Linked DNA regions of Homo sapiens: region 1 is linked to region 2. Evidence: promoter capture Hi-C in 16 types of primary human blood cells and fetal thymus (Javierre and others, 2016). All regions are on one chromosome and are shown on one strand. Each heading gives the region's core, a stretch centred on a gene start or on the middle of the fragment in contact. The rest is flanking DNA. Distances are from core to core; before and after follow the strand shown.

Region 1 (4,821 bases), core at 34-2,533, 610 kb after region 2:
GGCACACGAGGGTCCATAACGTGCGGCGCAGCGCCATCTGCTGGCAGGCCACTCCTGGCCGCCCCAACAGCCGGCAGCCGCGGATGGCTCTGAAATCCACACGGCTTGGTGCCTCCACCTTCGTCCCCCGGGGCTTCTCGCTGCTGGGGAGTCCTGACTGTACTAAAAAAAGAAAGAGAGAAGGAGATTGTGCCGGAGAGAAAAAACAGTGCTGGAGAAACCGTTTCCAAAGATCTATTTAACATGTAAACGGAGGAAGATTAATATCTCTGGAACAGTCCCCAAACGTCTTGCCAAGGGCACAGGTTTTCAGCTTTAAAGGTGAAGTTGAGTTTATTTGCATCTAAAGCAAACAGTTGTTTCTCCTCCTTTCTTTCTCTCTGTTAAACATCGTATCCTAACCATATCCTCTTTACACTCCGGCTCTGCGTGCTTCTTTATGGAGGGGAGGTCGAGTTAATGGCAGCTGTCTGGGTGTCCAGGTTAATTCATTTCCTGGCGGCGTGGCGGTGGTGGTGAGGGGGATTCTGAAGTGCTTTTGGAGACACTGGGGCTCTGTTTGCCCATCCATTCCAGGAATCAGTGGAGGGACAGCCCCTCTCAAGGGCAGAATCTGAGGATTGTGGAAATGCAATCAACACACTTATGCGTGCGCCCACACTGCTTTGAATGGGATCCCAGACTCCAGGGAACTCATCTCTGATAAATTGCAAAAGACCCAAACTAAATGGACCAAAGAAGCAGTCATTATGCTTAAGGGAGGGACCTCACTGTAACACAGAATAAAGTGTTACCTGCAATTATTTTTTAAGGTTGTGGGGGAAATCTCGGTATCCCAATTCTAACTACCCGGCCTTTTGCTAACTGACTGCAACACTGACTTCCAGCATCTCACATCCTCTTCCTCTCTCTATCTTGCTCTATCTTCCCACTCTTACCCAGTCCCATAACAAACAGGTTGGGGTGGATGCCCTCTATGTCCACATTACTTAGGGAGAAAGGGGAGGCTGGATCCATTCCTGGTTTCCACCTAAGGATGATTTGTTTAGGCCCCTGTTGTGAGGATTCTGTGATCCTTGGTGCCTGGTGGCTCACAACAGGGATTAATTGCAATTGTCTTTGTGTATGGAAGGGACTAGGCTTTTTCTTAGGGCGCTCAGCACAGCACTGCCTGCCACTGAGACGGTTCAGGGCACAGAGCTCTCTAGGCCCACAAAGAGGTCTGGCTCTCAGGACAGCCATGGGAGGGGCCTATGTCATCAGGAAAGGGCGTTGTTTTCTCCAGGGCTGCCTCTCAGCCTAAAGAGACTTTTACTCTAATGCCATGAGCTGTCCTTTTGCAGACTAGCAACCGGCTGGTGAGTGCTTTCAGGGGATTGCTTCTCTCTCTCTCTCTCTCCTTCATACACTTTTAGAAACAAATACAGTCAGAATCATTAATTATAGAATTGGAGGCCTAGGGTTGCCAGATAAATTACAGAATACCCAGTTACATTTGAATTTCAGAAAAAGAATGAATAGTGGTTTGATTTTAGTGTAAGTATGTCCCAGATATTACGTGGGGCATACTTACACTAAAAGATATTCTTTGTTTATCTGACATTCAGATTTAAGTGGATGCCTGTGTGTTGTTTTTGTTTTTTTTTTTTCCTCCCTTCCTTCTCCCTTCCTTCTTTCCTTTCTTCCTTACTTTTTTTTTTCCTTCTCAACCTGGCAACCTATTAGAGACCCTCTAGTAAAAATCTTTAGCCAGGAAACCAAAATTGGCAGAGGCAAAGTAATTTGCCCAGTTACACAGCTGGTTCGAGGCACAGCTAGGGTCAGAAATCAGGTCTAGAAATTTAGTTTTGATTCTCTCGATTAACCACACTGTCTTTGCTTCCCCAGGATAGCCAACTGGGAGCTAACGTACCACATAAGCTCACGTCATAAAACCAGTTCTTCATATAATCATTTCAGAATGATTCACGCGTGCTTCAAAGAACCATAAAGTAAAATACCATTCATCTGGAAATGCCACTAGTTTATAATTTGTGAGGTTTCCTGGCAAAGTGAATCTTTACCTAGAGACCCTTTTCTGGCTGAGGAGTCCCACAGCTTCCTTTTCTATCACCATTGTTCATGATTGTTTTAAGGACTTTGTTCTACCAAGTGATTTCACACTCTTAAGCACACAGTTAGATACAAGCAAAGAGTGTGCCAATTAGCCTCCTCTTCCTATTAAAGCAAAAGTTCTAAAGCCATTTCATCTTATCTGGATAAAAAGATTAATCTTAAAATACTCTAATATGCATTATTTCAAAGACTTACATTGGTTACCTATCTTGAGACTTCAAGATTGGTGGCAAAACTGTTATTCCATATTGTGGCCAACCTCAGGGCAAAAATGTGACCTTATATTTTGGCTATGCTGTGACCAAGTGTCCTTGTTCATGTCTCTTATGACATCTGAGCCTCACTTACATTATTTTTAAAAGGAGGGGTTAGTTCCTTATTAAGTCCTCGAGTCCATTTTGGTTCTAAAACACTAGGTTTCTAAAAATCAGACATGCACTCTGTTAACCTCATCTGTTTTTGAAGTTCCAACTGGAATTCAGCAGCAAAAATTGCATCTAAGTCTTTTGTAAGTATCCACTGTGCCCAGGATGGTGCCACAAGCTGCCTGTGCTCCCCAAAGCAATCTGGCCATCAAAACCAAAGTATAAAACCTCACACCGAGGAAGAAAAGAAAAAGGTGTTAATGAAACTAGCTGTAATGCAAAGAAAGGTCAGCTTCAGCTGCAAGCACTGAAATGAAACCATATAATTGCAAGTGGCAAAAAGGGCTCCAGGTGAGACAGGGACTTTGTTTACACCATGCCCTTCTTTTCTGCCAGTCTTATCATCTGAGTGGCTCTTTCTGGACCAGTGAAATAAGAAGCAACAGGCTGAAGATCTGAACCTTCTAGAATTAGATCCAAGTGCCCCAGCCTAACAACAGATCTCCATGAGCATTTCACAGGCTCATTATTACTGGCGAGGGAAGGTTGCAGTCAGGGGCAACAGAAAGAAGGACTGTTCTTGCAAATGATAGCAAAATCTTGTTTTGCCTGGGAACTCCCTCTTTCCCACTTGGACTTTGTGTTTTTCTAATGAATGTCAAAGAGCAGTACATGAGGCCAGGTGGAGATAGAAGAGTGATGTTTCCCTATTTTCCTTTCTTTTTTTCCTTTCTCTTTTGACTTTATTTTTAGCCTTAAAATTGCTCCTGCAGAGAAACCATTCAACACAGGTGAGACTCAACCCAGAGCCAAGGTGCTGGAGAAGCCGAGGCTGCCTTTGCTGGTGGCTTCAAGCCAGGAGAAGCTTTTGTGTCTGCTGGGTGTGGTGCCCACCAAGGAGACCAGGCTCTGACAGGACTATGCCTCCCAAAGACAAATGGATGAATTTTTTTGAAAATATAAAATCCTCATGTACTCTATTTCATGAATGGAACCAATTCAAGGACCTTGCTCTGAAAAATGCTATTCAAATTGTTTTCATTGAAATATTTTCTTGCGCCTCCACTTCATCTTTGGAGCATCCCAGGGGCTTTCCCTCTCAAGTACATGCTACAGTTTTGCAAGCTCCTTTTCTAGAATGGAGATGTGCTCTCAGGACTCTATTGGCCAAATCTAGACATAACCAAAAACCCAGGGACAGCGTGCTGGGGAGGGTGTTGACTATTCAGTGACTGAAGAATTAAGTACTGTCCTGAGAAGAAGGTAGTGACCTCACAACCTGATCAGGCAAATGCTTAGGGCTTTGTCCCTTTCTTACAGATTAGAAAGTTCCCACATTTGCCACTAATAATAACTAGTACTTATGAAGGTTTACTATGTGCAAAGTACTTTGCATCCAATTCTCATTTATAGGTACTGTTATTGCCATTTTATGGATGAGTAAACTGAGGCTTAGAAAGGTTTAGAAACTTGAGTAACATCACATTGCTATTAACTAGTAGAGGCAGAACTAGAAACTAAGTCTCATTGACTCTAACAGTCCGTCTTCTCAATGACTTTTGACAGTAATAGGTAAATTTTCAAGGCTGTGGTCAGCTATGATTGCATCCCTGCACTGCAGCCTGGTGTTGAAACAAGACCTCATCTCTAAAAAGTAATAGTAATAATAATCATAGGTAACTGTAATTGACTACCTACTATGAGCCAGGCACAATTGTGAGCACTTTATGCATTTTATTGCAATAAAACTTCATGACAACCTTGTGAGACAAGTACTACTATTAAGCCCATTTTATGTATGAGGAAAGTGAAGGACAGAGATTAAGGAAAGAGCTGGTGACTTTAGCTACTCACCCATATTGGCCACCTGGGTCAGTGGAGGTTGTTGGCCTCTCTTCAAATCCAAAGAACAATAAAGCCTCATTCAAAATGCAAAAGAAAAATGAATTTGAAAAACAACAAACACACAGCAAAACCTACCCCTCCTCTGCCCACATCCCAACTGGACAGCTGTGTGTATCTTCTTTAGCCTTTCTTTAATTCCCAACAGAGTTTCTCTTCTACTCTTCCTCTTCATATAAATGTAAGACTTGGGGTGGGAGGCAATGTATGCCTCTAAGGTATGTGTGATTCTCTCGTTCTTCGTGGCCACAGAGAATGAAGTCAGTTCTCTAACAATTGCACAATCTCTCTATCTCTTATCTTCTCTCCCTCTGTCCTCTGTCTCTCTCCACACACACACACACACACATACATACACACACACTTTCCTCCTTTGATCTCAAAATTCTGAAATGCAGTTTCTATTAATAGAACTTTCTGTTGATTCATTAGCTAAGCA
Region 2 (5,263 bases), core at 2,217-4,716:
CACACATGCACACATGCACTTACGCACACAAAACACATAACTGAAATCCCAATTTGTAGTAAAGAGCCCACATATAAAATCATTAGATTGTAATATTCCCTTTCCTCAGAATTATTTAACTTGATAAACAGTCTTTCCAGTAGCAGTCATCTTTCTGCAAGTAATTCAAGACTTGTTGAATATCATTTAGGAGACAAGTCATATTTGCCATAATCTTGGTTTCATAAGAAGCAGAAAAATTACCAAGTTTAGAGTGTTTCTGGCATAGCAGCTGTACACTAAAGTAAAATAAAATACCAGCATCCTGAAATCGACCAAATACTCATTTTTGTTTTTGTTTTTGTATTTTGTTTGCATTTGCTTCAGATGAAGCTGTCTGTGTGGCTCCTTAGCATGGTCTGGATTTTCTTTGTAAGCACACACACACTCAAACACACACAGGCAGGACACACAACACCAAGCAGCCCTAGCTGCTTTCAGCTTTGGGAGCTGCTTCTTTAGGGCTCCTGTAACTTAGGTCTACAAACTTTTCTAGGTCTCACTCTGGGTAGAAGTCATACAATCTGAGGTGCTGATAAATGAGAAGTGCATGAACTAGATTTAATTTGGTATGTTTCATATTTCATTTGTCATATTTCAAAGACCATCTCAAGACATAAGAAAAAGTAATCAGAATGTTTGAAAAGGGGCTTGCCTTCTAAAAATATAACAATGTTTCTTTACGTAAAAAACAAAACAAAACAGAAAATCCAGCTACTCCTAGAAGTATGGGTTATATGTGGGGAGAAGAATGAGATTGCTGAACTCACTGCAGAAAAGGTGACTTTTAAAAGGTAACCTTGAGTTATGTCATGAACTTTCAATGCCATTTATTTCAGAACTACTCCCAAATAAAAGAACTGGAGTATGTTAGGCCCTCCTGTATGTCCAGCGTTGGGGGAGGATTACTTGTGTACTAATATTATTACAACACACTAAATCCTGAAACCCTATTACAAAATCTACCCTCTAGGCAACTTCTCCCAAACTTATTGTTCAACCATGTAAAAACAGTCATAACCTAAAACCATTACTACTGAAGAAAAAGAGGAGGGGGTGGGGAGAGGTGAGGAAAGAAGGCTGGGAGGGGGTGTTTCCTAGGGAGCCCCTAACAGTTTACTGCTTCTTTAGGACAATGTACCAGCTTTTGCGAAGAAAAAAGAAAGGAAGGAAGAGAAAGAAATCAAAAGAAGGAGAGAAAAGAGAAAGAAAGGAAACTTGATTGAGTTACTTAACTTACCTCAAAGCTCAAATAAACTAAATTGAAAAAAATAGTACTAATAAAGAATAATGGTAAGAGGTAGTGAACTCCTTTTATATTATTGCTTTATGAGAAGACTTAACTATTAAAAATTCCTGATACTGAAGGCAAAAGGCAAAGATCTTCCACGCATCATTTCTCCTCGAAGGCCGAGACTTTTTTTTTTTAAATGTAGAAAACCAGTACAAATTTACAAAACACACTATATAATGCTCTCTTATCTCTAGTTTGCTTTTTTGTGTACAAACTGTTAACCTGAACAGTTTTCCGGTGCAAAAGGTCTCACCAGAAACTTTAGGAAAGATGAGTGTGACTGCGGGAAGCAGAAGAAACTAAGCTGAGAAAACCCGGAAAAATACTCGGCGCAGCTGCTGCGGCCTTGGGTCATCTCACCTCCATCTACCCCGCGTGCTCGCTTTCGCTTGGGGTGGAAAGCGGGGTTCAGGGGCTCTTTTCAGCGGACTGAGAAATCGCAGAGGCCGTGGGTAAGGATTCAAGCTTGAGGAAACACTGGGGGCCGGGAGGAGGGCTATTGTAAAGCATTTCTTAATTAATTTCAAGTCCTCCATTTTTTTACAGGGACCCCAAGTCAGGATTCCCCTTTCCCGACATCAGGGGTAAAGGGAGCGGGGGTCCCTTCGCTTCACTGTGCCCCAGCTCTACCGAGAGGCAGGCCTCTGGGAAACGAGCCGGGGACCTGGGGGCCCGGGCGGCCGCAGCTTAGTGGGCTGAGGTGCCGATCAGGGTCACGCTTCGGAGCTCTGTCGGGGCCCAGCTCCCTCCTTCACACCCCAAAATGCCGCCTAGGGCGTGGGCATCCCGAGTGGCATCCGGAGCCGCTGAGACCCCGCCGAGATTGCTCCTTGTGCGTCCTCCCACAGCCGAGAGGCCAGCATCGTGCCGGGACGACCCGGGGACCCGAGTCCGGGCGCCGCTACACCGCCTCGGGCGCTAGGCCTGGGAGCTTTGAGGCCGGTACCGTGAAACACCTTTAGGAGCAAGGAGGGATTCCAGGTGTCCTCCCTTTGTACCCCAACTCCCTGCCCGGATCTCTTCCACTCTCTGCCATAGCCCCCACACACAAACTTTGTTCTGGACTTGTTCAGCCCCTTCGGGACCCACAGTTGTCGCCTCCATCGGAGAAAACAAGTGCCCCTGTTTCAGGGGGGATTCCACTCTGGCTGGCCACCCGCAAACCTGGAAAACTATTCTATGACTTCTTCCCTGACCCCCCTGGAAGTAGGGAGCACCACGATCCGCAGAGGGCGCATACCGACCAGAAAGATTTTGGGGGGCAGAGGGTGCAAGTGTTGTGGGAAGAGATGCGGAGATAAATTTTGCGAGCCAGACCCCGACACTTTCCCCGTCCGTTTGCACCGTCTCCGGAACAACTGGCGGCCAGCAGCACTCTCCACCCCGGCCGCAACCCCAGCGGGTCAGGCGCTGGCGCCCCGACACCAGTCCCCATCTTCTTGCAGCTCTGAACCTCCAAAGACACCCGGTTCTGCCTCGCAGGCCGAGGGGGAGTGTGCGTGGGGGCAGGGGGGCGCAGCGAACTCCCCCACGCTCGGAGTTCAGCCCAGCGCCCGAAGTAAACTTCCTTACCGCTGGCAGCAAGGCCGGGCGGCGGAGGCCGGGCCGGGTGCCCTGGGGCCGGCGCCGGGAGCGCTAGGGGCCCCGTGCGGTCAGGCCGGGGCGACCTCCACCCGCACCCACGCCTCATGGGGCTCCCGGGTCTTGGCCGCGGCTGGGATCCCCGGAAAAGCAGGGACGGAGAAGCCAGGCCGGCATGCCCGCCCTCCTTCCCCCGGGAGGACCCAACAACTCCGGAAAGATCCTGCCGGGAGATGTGCTCGCTTTCCCCGGGGCAGCGGGGGAAAGCCCAGCAAAGGCACATTGAAAATTAAAAAGAAAAAAAAAATTACGCCGAGTGGAAGAAGCAATCGGGGCCGCGGCGGCGGTGAGGTAGGGGGCGCGGGGGCCAGCCGCGTGTGAGTGGGTCCGAGTGTGCGTGAGTGTGAGTGCGTGTGTGTGTGTCCACGGCGCGGGCCGGAGCACTCACCATCTCGCCGGGGGAGCGAGGCCACTTCGGGGTCGGATTGGAAATGTTGAGGCTTCGCTTGCTTCCTCCGCGACATGCTGGCTCAAACATCAGCTGGGGCAGAATAAAAAATTACTAAAAAAAAATCTTCTCAAAATTACGGAAATCGAGCGGCGGCGGCGGCGGCGGCTCCCCCCGCCCGCCGGCCCGCCCGCCCCCTCCCCGGCTCCCCGGCCCCGGGCGCAGCGCGCATGTGTCCTGCTATAATTATGATTATCAATAATGCATTGCGATTAATCATAGAGGGGCTCTTTGAAAGGCGATTGGCACCGGGCCAGCGCTATTCAAACCCGCTCGCCTTAATCAATTAGTTCGTGATTTGCTGCAGACCCCTGTCTCTCCGCGCGCTGGCCCAATAAGCCGGCCGCGGGGCTGGCTCTGCGCGCCGCGCCGCCCGACACTGGGTTAACCCTCTTTGCGACCGCCCGGGACTCCGCGGCCCGGCCGCCGGGGGCCGGCCTCCTCTCCACTGCGGGCCCGGCGCCCCGGCAGGCGCCCCCCGCTCTCTCCCTCTCCCCTCCCTCTTCCCTCCCTCCTTCGCCCCCCCCCACAATCCCGGGCTGGGCCGACCCAAATTAGCATGCCCTCCCCGGAATTGAGCCGCCCCGGGTGGGGGGTGGGGCCGGGCGGCGAGGGCTGGGGACCCGGGCTGCCGGCGCGCTGCGAACTTCCCAACTCGGGGGCGAGGCGCGCCGGCCCGCGGGGGGAGGGAGTCCCGCGGCGGGATCAGGGGGGAGGGCGTCCCGTTTCGTGAGTGTTTCTTCGTTTCTTTAAGAGCTACCAGAAAGCAGCCCACCCCCACCCCCATTAAAAAAAAAAATAAGCGAGTGGGGAAGAGCCAGCCCCACGCCGGTCCGCCTCCCGCCCACGGCTCGGCCTCCCTCCCGCCTGGCTCGGCGCTCCTCCGCCCCGAGTTCTCCATCCCCTGGATCCCGGGCTCGCGGGGGCGCGGAGAAGAGGATCCAGGAAAGGTTTGGGAACCTGATGGGTTTGTGGCTGGGGGGAGGGGCAGTTCTCCCGCCACCCCATCCCCTCCCCGCCAGGGGCACTGATCCTCCAGCTTCTTGCTTGCTCCCTCGCTCCCTTTCTCTACCTCGGACATTCCCAGGACAATTAGGGCTGAAGTTTTCGGGAGAAGCAGCCCCGAGCCCGTGGGATAAGGGGGCGGCCCGGCTCCGCCCAGGACCCCTCCCGGACCTCCCCCCCGGCTGCCCCGGTTGGCTGCAGGGCGCGTCACTCCGCGGGGAGGCGGCGGCAGCGGTGGCGCCGCAGAGCCCCGGGCGGGCGGAGAGCGGGGACCGGCCTGGGCTCCGAGTTCAGCTCCGGCCGGGGGGAGGGGAGGGGCTGCGGCTCACACTGAGCGCAGCAGCGAGCACCGGCCTAGGGAGACACAGCCCGGGCGGACCCGGCACTGGACTGGGCCAGTCCCTGGGACCCCTGGGCACCCCGCCCTGGGGAGGGGGCCGCGCCCCAGCCTTCCGGGACGAGGTGGCGGCGCAGAGCCGGAAAGCGGGGTGGGGGGAGGGCGGTGGGGAGGTGTTCTGTCCGAGGCTGCCTGGCGGCGCCGAAGCTCGCCTCCACTTTTTGGGCACTTGCCGAGCGCGGCGCCCGAACTTTTCGCTCTATCACCATCTCCCTCAAGCTGAGATGCAACCTCCCTACCCTCGCCCCAGAGCCCAGAGCCAGGAGCCCGATCCCTCTGCCGGGCTCAGGCGCCCGCGAACCTGAGACTCGGTACGCGGCTCAGCCTAGCTCTTTCCCCTCGCGCCTCGGGGTCTCCTCGCTCCAAGGTTCTCGAAGTCTTGCGCCCGAAGGACTAAACTAAACTAAACTTCGGCTGAGTAATGGGGGAGGAGGGGGGT

What was found. Contacts are between HindIII fragments. The CHiCAGO score rates a contact against its expected background, and 5 or more counts as called.
Region 1: a fragment that was not itself captured here is called in contact with the fragment with the promoter of SALL1 in region 2 in 1 of 17 cell types (endothelial precursors); the score reaches 6.8 in endothelial precursors.

What each region holds. Positions count from the first base shown.
Region 1 is chr16:51,762,255-51,767,075 of GRCh38, forward strand. LINC01571 (long intergenic non-protein coding RNA 1571) reads left to right here and starts at 265. Exons shown (of 3, transcript NR_110916.1): 1 at 265-321. LOC105371257 (a long non-coding RNA gene) reads right to left here. Exons shown (of 4, transcript XR_001752182.1): 2 at 4,335-4,399; 3 at 1-162. The HindIII fragment of the contact is 4,119 bases long and covers 1-3,343 here.
Region 2 is chr16:51,147,804-51,153,066 of GRCh38, forward strand. SALL1 (spalt like transcription factor 1) reads right to left here and starts at 3,467. Exons shown (of 3, transcript NM_002968.3): 1 at 3,363-3,467. The coding sequence starts at 3,438. RefSeq lists an enhancer at 2,664-3,164. The HindIII fragment of the contact is 4,337 bases long and covers 1,797-5,263 here.